Linked DNA regions of Homo sapiens: region 1 is linked to region 2. The links are contacts of gene promoters, found by promoter capture Hi-C in blood cells and fetal thymus (Javierre and others, 2016). All regions are on one chromosome and are shown on one strand. The core of a region is centred on a gene start or on the middle of the fragment in contact, and the rest is flanking DNA. Distances in the headings are between cores, read along the strand shown.

Region 1 (2,766 bases), core at 193-2,692, 540 kb after region 2:
CGCTGGGTTTTCTTGATATCTCCCCCACTGGACCTGACCGGGGCATGGGCTGCCCTGTGAGTGCCTCAGCCCTCGTCCATCACTGCCCATGGGGCTGATACACCTGTGTGCACACACTCAGGTGAAGACAGCTGCTGCCCGTAGGTGAGGTAAGACACTGAGCACCTGTGTGGGAGGAGATCTTCCACTCCCACTCTGTCCACACCAGACCATGAAGAGCTCTCCATAGCATGGGTGCTGACCAGGCCCAGCCTGGGTGACAGAGTGAGACCCTGACTCAAAGAAAAAGACATAATGAGGTGTGATTTTAATTTCTTGGATGTCCCAGTATATATAAATGTTGGGAGTATGGATTGCTTCATTTCATTTTAAATAGCATTTTTTTTTTAAGATGGAGTCTCACTCTGTCACCCAGGTTGGAGTGCAGTGGTGCGATCTCTGCTCACTGCAGTCTCTGCCTCCCGTGTTACAAGTGATTCTCCTGCCTCAGCCTCCCGGGTAGGTGGGATTACAGGCATGTGCCACCATGCCTGAATAACTTTTGTATTTTTAGTAGAGATAGGGTTTCACCATATTGGCCAAGCTGGTTTGAACTCCTGACCTCCAGTGATCCGCCCACCTTGGCCTCCCAAAATGCTGGGATTACAGGCGTGAGCCACCGTGCCTGGCCACCCTTTATCTTCTTTTCTTTTTGAGACAGGATCTTGCTCTGTCGCTCAGCCTGGAGTGTGGTGATGCAGTCATAGCTCACTGCACTCTTGAATCCCTGTGCTCAAGCCATCCTCCCACCTCAGCCTCTACTACAGGCATGCACCACTACACCCAGCTATTTTTTTATTTTTTGTAGCAACGGGGTCTCACCATGATACCCAGGCTGGTCTTAAACCCCTGGCCTTGTGATCCTCCCACCTTGGCCTCTCAAAATGCTGGAATTACAGGTGTGAGCCACCATACCTGGCCCCCTTCATCTTTTTTCCACTGCCTTGTGCCAACCCAGTTTGTGCACTGGGGCCTTGCGATCCTCTCAAAGCTGATTCAGCCTGCATTCCTTTCCCAGATGGACACGTGTGTGATAAACAGCTCTGCAGTGGGGTGAGGGAAGGCAGGGGCAGCAGGGTCCTGTATGTCCTGCCATCTCCACAAAAGGGCAGTCCTTACCCCAGCCTTGTGCTGATGAGACCAGGCATAGACAGTCCTGACGACACAGGGCGGAAGGGAGCAGCCATTAGTGCTAATGAGGCAGGCGGCCTGAAAGCTTTGTACTCTGCAGTGGCTCGCCCACCCAGGGAACAGTTCGTTCTGTTTCCTTGGCTTCCAGGAACCCTAGGCAGAAAGGGGTTTGGGGACAGGAGCAGGAGTGGGCGGTCTTGGAGAAACCTGGAGGGAGAAAGGGAGGGGAGGACCAGAAATGTAGTCAGGAGGGCCTAGGATTGGTTAGGTGGGCTTTTCCTTCCCCTTTCCCTCCAAAGAAACCCAGGTTCTGGTTCTGCACCTACCCCTGCCCAACAGTGGCCATTGGCCCATCACCCGCTCCAATGTCCTTGACCCGAATTCTTGGAAGCACAGGAAACAACATGCCACATAGGGGTTGAGTAAGCATCTCTGGGGCCACAAATTAAATTAAGCTTTCAGGGCCGCCTGCCTTGTTATTGCTAATGGTTCTAGCCCTGCTCAGCTCCTAGGTCCCTGTCCTGTGGAAATTTGTGGACCCTGGGCACCCTCTCTTGCTCCCAAATTTTAATCGGCTCCTGGAAACCTCACCCCAAATTGGAGATAGGCACTCCTCTTGTAGAACAAAAGGCTCAGGTTCAGGGAGTGAGGGCCTGAACTGTGCCCCCACCCTCCAGGAAGGGTCCTTCACGGCCTGGCTGCAGGGATCAGTCACGTGTGGCCCTTCATTAGGCCCTGCCATATAAGCCAAGGGCACGGGGTGGCCGGGAACTCTCTAGGCAAGAATCCCGGAGGCAGAGGTGAGTCCTCAGGTTGGGCAGGGACTCCTCCTCTCTGTGGGGTCTCTATCTGGGCACCTAGAGGGGACTCCAAGGATAAGGAGGGACTAAGTGGTACATCTTCCTGCTGAGCCAGGCCATGCTGACCGCAGCGGTGCTGAGCTGTGCCCTGCTGCTGGCACTGCCTGCCACGCGAGGAGCCCAGATGGGCTTGGCCCCCATGGAGGGCATCAGAAGGCCTGACCAGGCCCTGCTCCCAGAGCTCCCAGGTCAGTGTGAGCAAGGGTGGGACTGGGCGGGGCCTGAATACCCTCTGGCCACAAATAGTCTCCCCTGGCATAAACCCTCTTTCTCCCTTCCCAAACCCTCCCCTGGGAGGTGGGTGCTTTGTGCATGGGGGTTCCTGCCCTCACATCCTCTGCCCCAGGCCTGGGCCTGCGGGCCCCACTGAAGAAGACAACTGCAGAACAGGCAGAAGAGGATCTGTTGCAGGAGGCTCAGGCCTTGGCAGAGGTAACTGCTCAGGGAAAAGGGTAAGGTGGTGGCCCTTGGGAGGGGGCATTGGGTATTAGCTCCTCTCCCCAGCTCCAAACTCCCTCACCAGCGACGACACTACCGACCACCCCTTCCCATGCTCCACTGCCATCCTGCACAGGTTGGGACAGGTAAGATCCCTGGATCTGTCTTTAGAGGCCTGTGCTGGTTCCCCACCCCTGCAGGTACTAGACCTGCAGGACCGCGAGCCCCGCTCCTCACGTCGCTGCGTAAGGCTGCATGAGTCCTGCCTGGGACAGCAGGTGCCTTGCTGTGACCCATG
Region 2 (2,705 bases), core at 38-2,537:
CAGATGTTACGAACCTCCCAGAGAGTTAATCCATAAATATTTACCTTATCTCCCACCCCAGGCACTGCAAATTACAGAAAAGATCTGACACCCATTTTCCAGATCTGTTCAAGAAGTATCTGTTGGGCATGGTGGCTCACGCTTATAATCCCATCACTTTGGGAGGCCGAGGTGGGAAGATCGCTTGAGGCCAGGAGTTCGAGACCAGCCAGGCCTACATAGTGAAACCCTGTCTCTACTAAAAACAGAAAAAATTAGCCGGGCGTGGGTGGTGTACGGCTGTAGTCTCAGCTACTTGGGAGGCAGAGGCAGGAGAATCACCTGAACCCAGGAGGTGGAGGTTGCAGTGAGCCGAGATTGCGCCACTGCACTCCAGCCTGGGTGACAGAACGAGACTGTGTCTCAGAAAAAAAAAAAAAAAAAGTGACTCGTATAGTTCTTGTTTTTACAACCCGAATATCTGAATTCAGGTAAAATATTCTGCCTGACCAGGGCTACATGATAAGCCACGTACTTGATCACTTTGTAGGGTCGCAGCACCCTTCTTACTACTATTTTAGGTAATTCAGGTTTCTGACGGGGAAGCCAGTGGAGCTGAGCGGGCTGCAAGAGGGGTGGGTTCTGGATGAGAAGTTGGGACGCGTGACGAGGGAGTAGAGAGTGAACCTTGGCTTAAAAGGAAGGAAAATAACTGTGAAGAAAAGATGACCCAACTTGAAATAAAACCTGAAGACCTTATCTCCCACTTGAGAGAGAGAAGAAGCTGAAAGCCATCAGCTTGCACTCTGGGCTCACAGACAGAGAGGGTGAGGGGTTGAGCCCAGATCTATGACTTCAGACCCCTGTCTCGGCCCCTAGGCCTGATCATTCATTCAAACTCTCAATAAACACGGATTACCAGACCCTGCGCAGGGAACACATCTGGGAAAACAGCTGCAACCTCGGATACCAGCACGGGACAAGCTATCTCAGGGCAATGAGGAACAACTAAAGAGAATCCCAGGAACCAGGTAACCAATCGCCAGAAGCCCTCCGCCCTCATGGTCCATTGGGTCAAGGCCCCACTGCCGCCTCGTATCGCCAGCCTCCAGTCCTGCCTCCACGACGCGCCCTTCCCCAAGGCTGGCCGGGTCTGGATGTCGCCATCCCCTATTCGGAGCTACAGACCTCGCAGCTGAACTCTTAAAAAGAACCTCGCTTCTTCCTCACGGTGCTCCAGCTCCACACACCGTACTGAGCCTCGCCAGCCACCGTACGCGAGGTCGCGGCGCGTCCGTGACGTCACTGATGTGCGCTTCTCCCGCACTAAGGGAAACATGGCTCTAACGCGGCCGGTGCGGCTCTTTTCCCTCGTGACTCGGTTGCTCCTGGCGCCGCGACGGGGCCTCACGGTCCGCAGTCCCGACGAACCCCTGCCGGTGGTGCGCATCCCAGTGGCTCTACAGCGGCAGTTGGAACAGCGGCAGAGCAGGCGGCGGAACCTCCCGAGGCCGGTGCTGGTTCGACCCGGACCGCTGCTGGTTTCGGCGCGGCGGCCGGAGTTGAACCAGCCGGCGCGCCTCACACTGGGCCGTTGGGAGCGCGCGCCGCTAGCCTCTCAAGGCTGGAAGAGTCGACGCGCGCGTCGGGACCACTTCTCCATCGAGCGCGCGCAACAGGAGGCGCCAGCGGTGCGAAAGCTCTCGTCTAAGGGCAGCTTTGCTGACCTGGGCCTGGAGCCCCGTGTGCTGCACGCACTACAGGAGGCTGCGCCTGAAGTCGTTCAGCCCACAACCGTGCAGTCTAGCACCATCCCCTCACTACTTCGCGGCCGCCATGTCGTTTGCGCCGCAGAAACCGGCAGTGGCAAGACTCTCAGCTACCTCCTGCCGCTGCTTCAACGGCTCTTGGGCCAGCCAAGCCTGGACTCCCTTCCTATCCCCGCGCCCCGAGGCCTGGTCCTTGTTCCTTCCCGAGAATTGGCCCAACAGGTGCGGGCTGTGGCCCAACCCTTGGGCCGCTCCTTGGGCCTGCTGGTGCGGGACCTGGAGGGAGGCCACGGCATGCGTAGGATCAGGCTGCAGCTGTCCAGACAGCCTTCAGCAGATGTGCTTGTGGCCACTCCAGGGGCTCTGTGGAAGGCCCTGAAAAGTCGACTGATCAGTCTGGAGCAACTCTCCTTCTTGGTGTTGGATGAGGCAGACACACTGCTGGATGAAAGCTTCCTGGAACTGGTGGACTACATCTTAGAGAAGAGCCACATAGCAGAAGGCCCAGCTGACTTGGAAGACCCCTTCAATCCCAAAGCTCAGTTAGTGCTGGTAGGAGCCACATTTCCCGAAGGTGTAGGCCAGTTGCTGAATAAAGTCGCCAGCCCAGATGCTGTCACCACCATCACCAGCTCCAAGCTCCACTGTATCATGCCTCATGTGAAACAGACATTTCTGAGACTGAAGGGAGCAGATAAGGTGGCCGAGCTGGTGCACATCCTCAAGCATCGTGACAGAGCAGAAAGGACTGGTCCCTCAGGAACTGTTCTGGTGTTCTGTAATAGCTCCAGCACTGTGAACTGGCTGGGATATATTCTGGATGACCACAAAATCCAACACCTAAGGTTGCAGGGGCAAATGCCAGCCTTGATGAGGGTAGGAATCTTCCAGTCCTTCCAGAAGAGCTCCCGAGACATACTTCTCTGCACAGACATAGCCTCTCGGGGCCTGGACAGC

The links. The method cuts DNA at HindIII sites, captures the fragments that hold promoters and counts their contacts. A CHiCAGO score of 5 or more calls a contact.
Region 1: a contact is called between a fragment that was not itself captured here and the fragment with the promoter of DDX28 in region 2, in 1 of 17 cell types (naive B cells). The highest score is 5.5, in naive B cells.

Annotation. Positions count from the first base shown.
Region 1 is chr16:67,482,721-67,485,486 of GRCh38, reverse strand. AGRP (agouti related neuropeptide) reads left to right here and starts at 1,940. Exons shown (of 4, transcript NM_001138.2): 1 at 1,940-1,970; 2 at 2,086-2,218; 3 at 2,377-2,462; 4 at 2,669-2,766. The coding sequence starts at 2,089. ATP6V0D1-DT (ATP6V0D1 divergent transcript) reads right to left here. Exons shown (of 4, transcript NR_184227.1): 2 at 1,159-1,377. The HindIII fragment of the contact is 370 bases long and covers 1,258-1,627 here.
Region 2 is chr16:68,021,814-68,024,518 of GRCh38, reverse strand. It overlaps DDX28 (DEAD-box helicase 28), which reads left to right and starts at 1,287. Exons shown (of 1, transcript NM_018380.4): 1 at 1,287-2,705. The coding sequence starts at 1,317. DUS2 (dihydrouridine synthase 2) reads right to left here and starts at 1,235. Exons shown (of 17, transcript NM_017803.5): 1 at 1,168-1,235. RefSeq lists enhancers at 1,135-1,374, 1,085-1,835, 1,836-2,586. The HindIII fragment of the contact is 5,621 bases long and covers 1-2,202 here.